2 separate regions of the Homo sapiens genome follow, and region 1 is linked to region 2. The links are contacts of gene promoters, found by promoter capture Hi-C in blood cells and fetal thymus (Javierre and others, 2016). All regions are on one chromosome and are shown on one strand. The core of a region is centred on a gene start or on the middle of the fragment in contact, and the rest is flanking DNA. Distances in the headings are between cores, read along the strand shown. Region 1 holds the start of SLC6A19 (solute carrier family 6 member 19). Region 2 has its middle 39 kb from the start of TRIP13.

Evidence for each region. The method cuts DNA at HindIII sites, captures the fragments that hold promoters and counts their contacts. A CHiCAGO score of 5 or more calls a contact.
Region 1: the fragment with the promoter of SLC6A19 here is called in contact with a fragment that was not itself captured in region 2 in 1 of 17 cell types (M0 macrophages); the score reaches 5.6 in M0 macrophages.

What each region holds. Positions count from the first base shown.
Region 1 is chr5:1,200,071-1,206,349 of GRCh38, reverse strand. It overlaps SLC6A19 (solute carrier family 6 member 19), which reads right to left and starts at 4,755. Exons shown (of 12, transcript NM_001003841.3): 1 at 4,498-4,755. The coding sequence starts at 4,699. RefSeq lists an enhancer at 1,724-2,287. The HindIII fragment of the contact is 15,195 bases long and covers 2,799-6,279 here.
Region 2 is chr5:928,651-935,478 of GRCh38, reverse strand. No RefSeq gene overlaps it. Among named protein-coding and RNA genes, the nearest start is that of TRIP13, 39 kb to the right of the region's middle. RefSeq lists a silencer at 5,818-5,994. The HindIII fragment of the contact is 1,026 bases long and covers 766-1,791 here.

The DNA of each region.
Region 1 (6,279 bases), core at 3,506-6,005, 270 kb before region 2:
AGGGGGAGATGGAGACACACAGAAAAAGAGACAGAGAGACACACACACAGACAGAAACAGAGAGAGACAGAGGAGAGAAACAGACAGGGCGATGGAGAGAGAGAGAGAGAAGGAGGGAGGGAGGGAGAAGCCAGGTACTGGAGGCTGTGACTTCCTCACTTGGCCCCTGCCAGCCTCTCTCACTGCTCCCTCTCCCAGTTTAACACGGAGCCTTTTCTCTCCCCTCCCTCTGTGTCCACTTGGTGCCTGCCTGTTGAGTGGAGCAGGGCCCTCTGGAGCCCAGCACCTCTATCCCCACACAGGCCCCTCTCTCTGAGCTGGGGTTCCAGGGACAGGTTCCTTCAGAAGCAGGAGCTGCAGGTGGCAGCAGCAGAGCCAGGTGTGTAGGGTGGGCTGGCGGGATGCTGGATTCATCGAGAGATGAAAGGCAGAAGGGAATGGTAGCCAGGTGCAGGAGATGCTCACCAGCGGGTCCCTATGGGAGGGTGTGGGGGCTGCAGGCTCACCTGCAGGGACACCCAAGACCCCAGCAGGGCCTGCTCATTAGGTTAAAATAAGAAAAGATTCACTCCTCCAATTTTTTTTTCCCAAGAGCTTGATTTGAAACTCTTCCAGACAAAACTACCAAGAAAAAGCAAGTGCATGATCCCCAGTGTCCTCCACCCTCTCCCTTCCCTCCACTATGCCCTAACCCTAAATGCTCGGGTCTTCCTATCGCTTCATCTCCATTGAGAAAACTCCTACTCATCCTTGAAAACCCCACCAGGGTGTCCCCTCTTTTGAGAGTCTCAGTTGTTGCCCTTGCTCCTGGTGGCTCTCCTTTCTGAAGGTTCCTCCGGGCAGGAGACCCTCAAATCCCCAACCCCTGGGGCTCAGGCTCAGCATGGAGCAGTGAACAGAGAGGACTGGGGGTGGGGGGCACACACCCACTCCACCCCAAATGCAGCCCGGAGGCAGCCAGGCCCTCCGTTGCTCCCAATGAAGGAGGCTGTCCTGCCCCAAGAAACTCAAGGAAAGCCAAGCATTCTTGACAATTAAAGCCACCAGAATATGAATATTTGTCTTTTAAACGCAGCGACTTCTTCCTAGTGTGGGGTGAGGTGCAGAGGAAGGAGAGAAGGAAAGGGGCGGCCAGCGCCCAGGGAACACTGCGTGGCTCTGCCTGGTGGGGCCCTGCAGGGCGCCTGGACGTGGTTGCAAAGGTCCCTGGAAACCAGGCCTCTCTGCGGCGCTGCAGATGTTGGCTCACTCAGGTGGAAGCAGGTAACCGAGAGAATGGGGTGGGGACGTGGCCAAATGGAAAGCACCCAGAGGGAAAGAGACACTGGGCACAGAAACAGTTCCTCCTGTCTGTCCTTGAAAAAGTAGGAAACCAGGAGAGAGGGGGAGGAGGGAGCTGCAGTTCTCACGCAGGGACTAAGCTTCCCCTTTTTTCTCTCTCCAGCAGGTGGTGTTTGTGGCACCAAGTAAATGCTGCATGGATTTTTGCTAAGAATTAGCTGCAGATGGACTAAGGGGAAAGCTGACCCCGGGGCCAGGCGTTGAGCAGCAAAGAAGAGACAGCTGGAAACAGCTGTGCTGGCGCCACATGGTCCTGGAAGGGGTGGCTCCTCCGGCTCCCGCACGCCACCTCGCTCACGGACACCATCACTGCCCTGTGCAGAGGAGCTGGGGGGGCAGCCCCTGAGGGGCCAGCTGTGGGGTGGGCTCTATCAGCAGCCACTGACGGGGACACACGGGGCAACTGAGGTTTCTGGACGGACACAGGTGGGCATGAATGCGTCTCCGCCTGCGCCACCGGCACTGCGGGGCCCTGCCGTGGGGATGTGGTGCTCCCAGGTGGGGGTGAGTGGGGTGAGCCCTGGCTGACCACGCCTCACGGCTTTTGGTTGCTGTTCCTGCACACCTGCCCACTGCCCCCAGCACCACCCTCGGGGGGCTCCGCCATCACACCCATTTCCCAGGTGAGAATGCCCAGGTGCAGCACGCCCTTGAGACGGCTCAGGTGAGTGGGGCGGCTGAGTTTGGAAATGCCCTTCCTCAGGAAAGTGTCCCTTGAGCCTGCCCACCTGGCACAGGCTCTCCAAGGAGGGCAAAATCTGTTAAGACACAGGAGACTCGGAGGCACGCGTAAATGGTTTTTAACCTCGAAGGACAATCCCAGACACTCAGGAGGCTTCCAAGAGGGAACCAGGAGGACCTGGCTGCCTGCTTCCCCTCGATTTGGTCTCGATGACCCGCATCAATTAGGAAATCTGGTGTCACTGACAAGGCATGCATGCTGGGGCCCTCACTAAGATGCACAGAGAGAGAGTGCGCTGTCTGTGGGTGTGGCCTCCCAGGGACGCAGCCTGCCCCACTGTTTTGGTGCCCATGAGGCCCCCAGGAGCCATAGGAGGGGACCCTGTGTCGCCGGGTCCTTTCAGCTGCCTCCCTGAAAGCTCCCTTGTGGCAGAGCTGCGGCCCAGATTGGATTCACCAGGAGACGGGTGCCCTGCTGGGAAACCCGGTGGCCTGCAGAGCCGTCTCCCATTCTCGGGGCCCTGCCCTTCTGGCCCGAGTCCCTCTGGCTGCAGTGTGGGCTTCAGCTCTTTCAGGCTGGTGGTCTGGTATGTGGGGTCCTGGTCAGCCCCCACAGCATGACCAAAAGGCACAGGGTTCCTCCAGGCCGGGGCGACTGCCAGAACCCTGTGGAGCCATCTGCGATGCCGCAGCTGATGGGGGCCCAGGTGACAGTGGCCCTCAGAGTCTAGCAGGTGACCTGGTGGCCCAGCCGAAGGGCCAGGTCAGGGGAAGCTTGTCTGGGGTCTGGGGAGAAGGGCCTGCTGGTGTCCACCCCAGGAGTGGGACCATCTGAGACCCAGCACATCCCAGAGCCCTGCTCGGCCCTCCTCACCTGGGCCTGCCTGCCCGGAACCCGCTGCCCGCTGCCCGCTGCCCGCACCTGTCCACCCCAGCATGGCCCAGGGTGCAGCGCCAGCACCCGCTGCTTGAAAGCTGCTCGCTCCCAGGCTCCACCGTGCACAGCGGCTGGTCTCTGGGTGTCAGAGCGGGGACTATCTGAGGTGCTGGGAGCCCCATCAGATTCCTGCCCAAGCCCGCATCTTAGAACTTGCCCTTCTGTGCAAAGACAAATAACTTCCCAGGCAGGCTCAGGCAGTCCCAACCCCTCCTCTTCCCAGGAGGCATGTGTCTGCCCCTCCATCCCCAGTGGGGATGTGAGCCTGTGACTCAGTTTCTCCTCCAAGCTAAACAAACTCAGGGTGTGGGTGAGCGCAGGGATCCTCCCCACAGGATAGGGCCCTGGGGGAGGGGGCGAGGACAGTGGCCAGGAAGTCCCCTGAGGCTTTGGTGAGCTGAGACTTGGGGACTGTCAGGGACTATAGTATCGGAGTGGCCAAGGTCCCCCGACCTGCCTCCAGTGGAAAGTGCAGGCTGGACCAGAGGCTCATGAAGCGCCCACCCCCGCAAGGCAGTGATCAACTCCTTGACAATGCTGGAGGCGAAACTGATTCAGGAAAAGCCCATTTCTGTTTTTCTTTAAAAACCTTCACATCACAAAGCCCGCGTGAGAGACAGCAGCTCTCCATGGTGAGAAGGAACAGGGCCCCCTGAGGGCAGACTCCTCTAAACGGAGGCTGAGACCTTCACGGCCCCCCCGTGAACTGCCCCAGGGCAGCAGGAAGCCTGTTTCCCAAGGGTGCCCGGCCCTCCTGGACCTTCCGCTGAGAAAGCAGCAGGTTTATGAGGGCAGCAGCTTTGGGGTTCGCCAAGCCCAAGGCTGAGTTCAAGTGTGGGGGTCCTAGGTACAGCCCCCTGCCAGGCCTGGGAGCCACTTCTCAGATGCTCAGGACCACTGGGCAGGAACACAAATGTCACCTCTGTGCCAGCAGCGGCCATGCCTACCTGGGCCGCAGGAGCCAGAGGAACGAGGAGCAGTCAGGCTTGTGTGTTGGGTGGGCACAGCGGCTCCCGGCCTCCAGGCCTGAGGGCACCTGGCTCAAGAGCCAGGCCCGAGTCCACAGGCTCCGGCTACCCACTCTGCTCCTCTAGGGTCACCTGCCCCCAACCCAGCTACCTCCTCTGCTCCCTGCACTGGCAGGTGTCCGCCTGTGGGGCTGGGACGAGAGGTGATGCCCAGGAGGGCCCAGCCCCGCGTCCTCCGAGGAGGGGCTGTACCGGGAGAAACACCCTTCCCCCGGCCCCACCCTCAGGCCAGAACGTTCCAGGACTGCCAGTCTGGAACACAGGGCCCTCCCTGGAGCCCCACACGAAGTCTTGGGGTCGTGCCGGCCAGGCCCATCTCCTCACCAGCAGCCTAGGAACCGGGCACGGGGGCCCGTGGGGGCCCCAGCTCCCCCCACACCCTGCGGCTTCTCCTCTCCCCTCCGTGCTTGGGGAGCCGAGGGTCCGGGGAGGATGTCTGCCCAGGGCCTCTGCGTGTGTCTGTGCTTCCCTGGCCACGGCCTCGCCCGCAGCCCCGCCCGGCCAGCCTACCTCCTCCGTGGCTCTGACACAGGTAGGGGAAGCGCCACACGTTGCCGAGGCCCACGCAGAAGCCCAGGCAGGTGAGCATGTACTGCGCCTTGTTGTCCCACTTCGGCCGGGAGCTGGCCTCCTCCTGCTCGATGGTCTCCAGCTCAGCCAGGGACGGGATCCGGGCGTCTAGGCCGGGGTTGGGCAGCACGAGCCTCACCATGGTGGTCGCTGGACGGCTCCGCACACAGCAGGCAGGGCAGAAGCTGGAGGGCGAGTGGCCGTGGGCCGGGAGCCGGGCACTTTATAGAGAACCTTTGGCACCTCGCCCCAGGCACCTGGGCAGAACGGAGCCAGTCGTCAGCAGATCTGCAGGGTGCGTCTGCGGAGGGACTGTTAATGCCTTATCTGCAGAGACGCCCGGCCCCGGGGCCAGCAGAGCCACCCACTGCCTTCGGGCAACCGGAGGCTGCTCCGTGGGCGCTGGCCACCCCTCCCCCTGCACAAACGCACACACAAATGCGTACAAACGCCGGTGCACCCCGGGGAGAAAGAACCAAGGCAAACAGGATGCTGGCTCTGCCCCGGTCTGGGAGCCCCTGGCTGCCGCACACCCCCACCTGCAGGACGCCGGGTGGGCCTCTCCACAGCTCCCTGGAGCACAGGCATCCCCGGCCCCCACCCCAGTCCAGGGAGAGGGAACTCAGCGGGAGCAGGGGCCCTGGGGCAGCTCTTGGTCTGCTCACACCAAGCACAGCGAGGCCCTGGACCCCTCCAGCCTGGCTCTGGGCTCTAGACGGCTGCTCGGGGGCCCGGCTTCCCACCAGTCCCCACGGAACCACGGCTCCTTGGGATGTGGCCTGAATCAACCTGAGAGTGGGGTTCCCGTGGCTGTGCCCCCTGGGCCACAGTTTCATTCTGGGGTTCGTAATGAACTTCATAATGAACAGCTCACGCTGCCCAACCCCAGCCTGGATGCCCGGATCCCATCCCTGGCTGAGCTGGAGAACATCGAGCAGGAGGAGTTCAGCTCCCGGCCATAGGTTCAGGACCCAGAGCCACCCTCTAGGGCAGCCTCGTCCCCAAGGGCCCTCTGGGGTCACGGGGGATGGAGGGTCCTGTGTCATGGAACCTGCAGCCACCCCAGATCCCCACCTTCCCGGTGACTGCACGGTTTCTGTCCTTCTGTGGAGCACTTTGTGGGGGGCAGTCCTGTGCCGGGCATGGGACAGCGAAGGAGATGGTGTTCCTGCTCCCCAGCAAAGAGGCCGTGCAGGGAAGCCACAGGGCTGACCACGGGGTCCAGGAGGGGCAGGAGGAACGTTGCGGGGAGTTCAGGAGAGGATCCTGGGGGTTGTGTCTCCAAAGCCAGAGTGGGATTCTCTCCTGGTTTTCCGCACAGGGAGTTGGAGGCCATCCTCTGTCGGGCGCTGCCCGTTTGGGCCCCCACTTGGGCCTCCCCTCACGTCTCTCCCATCTAGGAGACCTCAAGCTCTGGAATCCCGGACCAGCCTTCCTGAGGCCAGGGACGGTGCCACACCCTGCGCCTCCCCAGGCCTTCCTCCCGTTGCCTCCTTCAGCCTCTGGGCTCACCTCCCTGGGGGCCCTCGCTGGCCCCCTGCCCCCACTGCCCACATGGCTCCTTCCATAGCCGGGGCCTTCCCGGCAGGCATGGGACTTTCTCCCTAGCCTCCTGGTTCCTTTATCTCAGTCTGCACCGCTGGGCGATAAGGACCCAGAGCCGCCCCCGCCCCCACCTCCACCCTGCACAGGGCTCATCGACATTCGCTGAGTAATGGAGAT
Region 2 (6,828 bases), core at 29-2,528:
ACTTCCTAGACTTGTTGAATGGTTTCAACCAAAATGCCGATAGTGATATTGACAATGAAGTCCAGGCTGAGGTGGTCTCAGATGAAGATTAGGAACTTATTGGGAACTGGAGTAAAGGTGACTCTTGCTATGCTTTAGCAAAGAGACTGGTGGCATTTTGCCCCTGCCCTAGAGACCTGTGGAACTTCAACTTGAGAGAGATGATTTAGAGTATCTGGTGGAAAATATACCTAAGCAGCAAAGTGTTCAACATGTAACCATGTGACCTGGCCGTTTCTTTGTTTTATTATTTTTATTTATTTATTTATTTTTGGAGACAGATTCTTGCTGTCACCCAGGCTGGAGTGCAGTGGAGCGATCTCAGCTCACTGCAACCTCCACTTTCTGGGTTCAGGCAATTTTCCTGCCTTAGCCTCCAGAGTAGCTGGGACTACAGGCACACATCGCCACACCCAGCTAATTTTTTTTTTTTTTGTATTTTTAGTAGAGACAGGGTTTCACGTGTTGTCCAGGCTGGTTTTGAACTCCTGAGCTCAGGCAATCCACCTGCCATGGCCTCCCAAAGTGCTAGGATTACAGGCATGAGCCACTGCACCCGGCCAACCTGGCTGTTTCTAAAAGTGTATGCTCATATGCGTGAACAAAGAGATTATATAAAGCTGGAATTTATATTTAAAAGGGAAGCAGAGCATAAAAATTTGGAAAATCTGCAGCGCAGCCATGTGGTAGAAAAGAAAACCCATTTTCTGGGGAGAAATTCAAGCTTGCTGCAGAAATTTGCTTGTAAAGATGAGCCAAATAGCCAAGACAATGAGGGAAATGTATCCAGGGCATGTCAGAGACCTTCATGGAAGCCCCTTCCACACAGGCCCAGAGGCCTAGGAGGGAAAAATGGTTTCATGGGCCAGGCCCAGGGCCCAGCTGTTCTGTACAGCATCAGAATATGGCATTCTGCATCTTAGTTGCTTCAGCTCCAGCTGTGGCTAAAAGGGGCCAAGGTACAACTTGGGCCATGGCTTCAGAGGGTGCAAGGCCCAAGCATTGGTGACTTCCACATGGTGTGGGGCCTGCAGGTGCACAGAAGTCAAGAGCTGAGGTTTGGGAACCTCTGCCTAGATTTCAGAAGATATATGGAAATGCCTAGATGTCCAGGCAGAAGTCTGCCTGCAGAGTCCTCATGGAGAACCTCTACTAGGGCAGTGCAGAGGAGAAATGTGGGGTTGGAGCCCCCACACAGAGTCCTCACTGCAGCACTGCCTAGTGGAGCTGTCAGAGGAGGGCCACTGTCTTGCAGATCTCAGAATGGTAGATCCACTGACAGCTTGCACCATGCACCTGGAAAAGTCACAGGCACTCAACACCAGCCCATGAAAGTTGCCATGGTGGCTGTACCCTGCAGAGCCACAGAGGCAGAGCTGCCCAAGGCCATGGGAGCCCACTCCTTGTGTCAGTGTGGCCTGGATGTGGGACACAGAGTCAAAGGAGATCACTTTGGAGCTTTATGGTTTAATGCCTGCCCTGCTGAGTTTTGGACTCGCATGGGGCCTGTAGCCCCTTTCTTTTGCCCAATTTCTTCCATTTGGAATGGAAGCATTTACCCAATGCCTATACCCCCATTATATCTTGGAAGTAACTATTTTTTATTTTACAGGATCATAGCTGGAAGGGACTTATCTTGTCTCAGATAAGACTTTGGACTGTGGAGATTTCAGTTAATGCTAAAATGAGTTAAGACTCAGGGACTGTTGAGAAGGGATAATTGCATTTTGCAATGTGAGAAGGACGTAAGCTTTGGGAAGGGCCAGGGGTCAAATTTTGTGGTTTAGATTTGTGTACCCACCCAAATCTCATGTTGAATTGGTGAGAGGCCTGGTGGGAGGTGACTGAATCCAGGGGGCTGACTTCCCCCTTGCTGTTCTCATGATAGTGAGTTTTCATGAGATCTGAAAGTTTTAAAGTGTGTGGTACTTCCCCCGTCACTCTCTCTCTCCTGCTCCACCATAGGAAAATGTGCGTTGCTTCCCTTTCACCTTCCACCATGATTATAAGTTTCCTGAGGCCTCCCAGTCATGCTTCCTGTTAAGCCTGCAGAACTGAGTCAATTAAATCTTCTTTCTTCATAAATTACCCAGTCTCTGATAGTTCTTTATAGCAGTGTGAAGACAGACTAATATAATTAGAAAGTACACAGAGACCTAACTTTAGGTTCATTTCCAGAAGAGGGCCTGACCTGCTGCTCAGGGGTTAGTATTTCTTGCTTAGTCTTGTCTTTCTCATGGAGACACAGGCATACACACTTTCTCCATCTTCACATCCAGCTTCACTAATGGGTCATACTTTCCTTTCATTCCAAAATTTAAGCCAAATAAAAACTAGCCAGAACATTGGGCAATTGTTCTCCAAAAGGGAAATAAAAGAAGTCATTTATCTCAGCAGAAAGTATAACAACTCTGTTATGAGTTTATGGGTGAACCCAGGAATTGCCTTCCCTTTGGATCACCCCTTATGGCTCTAGTTCTGCCCAGAAACAGAAGGTTCAAGCCCTGGCCAACCAAAGCCAAGAGCTGCCCTCAGTCCTCATTCCTTGCTGGAAAACGGGCAGCCATATCCTTTTTCACAGAGGTGCAGAGGTCAAGTTAGTCACAGCTCAGCTCAGGATGTGGTTCTGAGGAGGCGACTGACAGGTGGCAATCGTCACTGATGCCTTGTTGCTGTTCTTCTCCAGTGACCATCGTCAGCCTCTGATTTATTCCCAGGCACCAGCAGCCAGGCTTCAGTCATCAGCCTTGCCCAGCTGAACACAGCTCCTGCTCTTGGACAGAGGAGGGTGGGTTTCAGGAGGGCAGCCACTCAGTCCCGCAGCTCGGGCCCAGGCTACCATGCTTCCTCTGGGCAGACCACTCTGTCCCTCAGTGAGCAGAGGGCTGGCATGTTAATGTCCCACTTGGAATTACTGAATTGACTCCCATCATCCTTGTATTCCTCTCTCTGTTCCTTCCCAGGACATAGCAATGCCTGAAGGGAGGAGCCTGTCCATGCCATCTGCCCCTCAGACACCAGCTCCGGCGGCGTGGATGCTGCTGCCTTCCAGGTGGCTGGGAGCCCGCTCTCACGTTTGGGGGTTAATGTCTGTGGAAAGGGAGGGTGCCCAGTTCACATGGGATTTTGCTCCCCTGACACAGAACGCAAGGATGCTGTGAGCTGAGAGTGAAGTCATTGTCCACCTCCCAGGGGCCACACTGCAGGTCCAAGTACAGAAAAGAGAGTGTCTTAAAGGAAGCCTTTGACTCTCTTTGGCTGAGTTTATGGAAAGGAAAATGAATCAAGCCCAAAATGGCCAGTAATGGCAGGGTCATTATTCCTTAAATGAAGCTCCACCTGCCTTTCCAACGAGGCAAGAACCAAATGCGTCCTTTGAAAGGAGGGCTCAGAGGTGCGGGTGCAGAACCCCATGCTCTCTTGAAGCGGTGTGGCCTGTCCCCAAACTGAGAGTCCCCATCTTCAAAACGGAGAGTTTGGTCACTTGAATTTTGTTGACATTTCTTACCTTGGGAAGCAGCTGGCTTCGTGCTGTTCGAAGTTGACCTCCTTTGCTCCAGATGGGAAGTGCCCCCAAAGCTGGCATGAACAGCTGTCACTCCCTAAGAAACTGCAGCTTTTTCTGAGGGCGGGAGCAGGTGCTCACCGATTTCCTTCTGTGGCGTGATCCTGAAGGAGCTAAGAGCCCACCACCCCAAAGGCATTGCTCTGGCTTTAAGCTGATCGCCATTCCATGTCTTAAAAGCAGGAGACGAAATTCTCATGTGAAAGATGCCCTCCCCATACGTTTGGGAAAGCATCTTTCTTATCAACAGTGGGAGGCCCAGACCCAGAGAGATTTCAGCATAGCCTCCTTAAAATCACTCTTCTTGGCAGCCTCCGCACACAATGTATTTTTCACAGCTTACTACTCCACCTCCAATTCAGGGTGCACAAAAGTTCTTTGAAAAGGAATGTAGAGGAAAGACTATTCCTATGAACAGTTTGTGAAGTGGGAGATGCTGCCTTCAGCGTAAAACCAGGATGCTTTCCAGAGAACAAAGAGAGGGTCCAGCTTTTATACTGAAAGTTCTCACATAGGTTCGCTTATGCAAATGAAAAATTCAAACTTCCTGTGTTCTGATGGGTTGGTTCAGGGGAGCTCTGGAAGTCCCAAAGTTTAACAGAGGTATGGGATTTCAAGGAACTCCGGGTACCCGTGTGACCTCTAGTCAGCAAACGGTCACTGGGCTCTATGAGGATTTAGGGCCGGTGAGCCACTAGAGATCCACCCATCCACTTCTTGCAAGTCCTGTTTGCTCACATGGGTGTGAGTGTCCAACTCTGTGGCTTTAGGGCATTCCTTCCATGGGAGGCTCTCCCACCATATAGAGCTTCCTTTAAATAAGCTTCCGTGCTTTCCTCCTGTTGATCTTTCTGCGTCAGTTAAATTCTCCGGTGCAGCCTGAGAGTCTGTACACAGGTGATCATATTCACAGGTTAATGTGCTCACAGGTGAATGTACGGGGAGGTGAATGTGTTCACAGGTGAATGTACTGGGATTAAATGTGCTCACAGGTGAATGAATGTACTGGGAGGGGAATCTGTCACAGGTGAATGTACTGGAAGGTGAAGGTGCTCACAGGTGAATGTACTGGGAGATGAAGGTACTCACAGGTGAATGTACTGGGAGGTGAAGGTACTCACAGTGAATGTACGAGTAGGTTATGTGCTCACAGGCGAATGTACTGGGAGGTGAAGGTGCTCACAGGTGAATGTACCAGTAGGTTATGTACTCACAGGTGAATGTACTGGGAGGTGAAGGTGCTCACAGGTGAACACATTTGGAGGTGATGGTGCTCACGGTGGAAGTATTTGGAGTATACCTGTGTATGTCTGTTCTTGCAGTGCTCTAAATACCTGAGAAATCTTACAATCATTGTGGAAGTCTAAGGGGAAGCAGGCACATCTTCACTTGACCAGAGCAGGAGGAGGAGAAAGAGAGGGTAGGTGCCATATGCTTTTTAACAGATCTCATGAGACCTCTATGAGAACATCAGCCAAGGAAGAAATCAGCTCCCACGATCCAATCACCTCCCACCATGCTCCACCTCCAGCTTTGGGGATTACAATTCAACATGAGGTTTGTGTGGGGACACAAATCCAAACCATATCATTTCACCCCTGGCCTCTCCCAAATCTCATGTCCTTCTCATATTGTAAAATAAATCATCCCTTCCCAACTGTCCCCCAAAGTCTTAAGTCAGCACTAACTTAAAAGCCCAAGTCCAAAGTCTCATCTGAGACAAGGCAAATCCCTCCTTCCCCTGAGCCTGTAAAATAAAAAACAAATTAGTTACTTCCAAGATACAATGGAGGCACAGGCACTGAGTAAATGCTCTCATTCCAAGTGGGTTAAATCGGTCGAAAGTGAGGGGCTACAGGCCCAATGCAAGTCTGAAACCTAGCAGGGCAGCCATTAATATATTAAAGCTCTGAAATGATCTCCTTTGACTCCATGTCTGACATCCAGATCATGGTGATGCAAAGGGTGGGCACCCATGGCATTGGGCAGTTCTGCCCCTGTGGCTCTGCAGGGTACAGCTCCCATGGTTGTCTTCACAGGCTGTTGTTGAGTGCCTGCAGCTATTCCAGGTGCATGGTGCAAGCTGTCAGTGGATCTACCATTCTGAGGTCTGCAAGACAGTGGCCCTCCTCTGACAGCTCCACTAGGCAGTGCTGCAGTGAAGACTCTGTGTGGGGGCTCCAACCCCACATTTCTCCTCTGCACTGCCCTAGTAGAGGTTCTGCATGAGGGCTCTGCCCCATACCAGACTTCTGCCTGAACATCCAGGCATTTCCATGTATCTTCTGAAATCTAGGCAGAAGTTCCCAAATCTCAACTCTTGACTTCTGTGCACCTGCAGGCCCCACACCATGTGGAAGTCACCAATGCTTGGGCCTTGCACCCTCTGAAGCCATGGCCCAAGTTGTACCTTGGCCCCTTTTAGCCACAGCTGGAGCTGGAGCAGCTGGGACACAGGGCACCATGTCCTGAGACTGTACAGAGCTAGCTGGGCTCTGGGCCTGGCCCATGAAACCATTTTTCCCTCCTAGGTCTCTGAGCCTGTGATGGGTAGGGCTGCTGTGAAGATCTCTGACATGCCCTGAAGACATTTTCCCATTGTCTTGGTTATTAACATTTGGCTCCTCTTTACTTATGCTATACAAATTTCTGCAGCAGGCTTGAATTTCTCCTTAGAAAATGGGTTTTTCTTTTTCTACAACAAGGCTGGGCTGCAAATTTCCCAAACTTTTATGCTCTGCTTCCCTTTTAAATACAAGTTCCAGTTTCAGATAATCTCTTTCTTCACACATATGAGTGTACACTTTTAGAAACAGCCAGATCACCTCTTGAAAGCTTTATTGCTTAAAAATTTCTTCTTCCAGATACCCTAAATCATCTCTCTCAAGTTCAAAGTTCCATAGATCTCTAGGGCAGGGGCAAAATGTCACCAAATTCTTTGCTAACGCATAACAAAAGTGACTTTTTCTCTAGTTTCCAATAAGTTCCTCATCTCCATCTGCGATCACCTCAGCCTGGACTTCATTGTCCATATCATTATTCAGCATTTGGGTCACAACAATTTAACAAATCCCTAAGAAATTCCAAACTTTCCCTTATCTTCCTGTCTTCATCTGAGCCCTCCACACTCTTCCAACCTTTACCTGTTACCCAGTTCCAAAGTCACTTCCATATTTTCAGGTATCACTACAGCAATGCCCACTCCTAGGTACCAATTTTCTGTA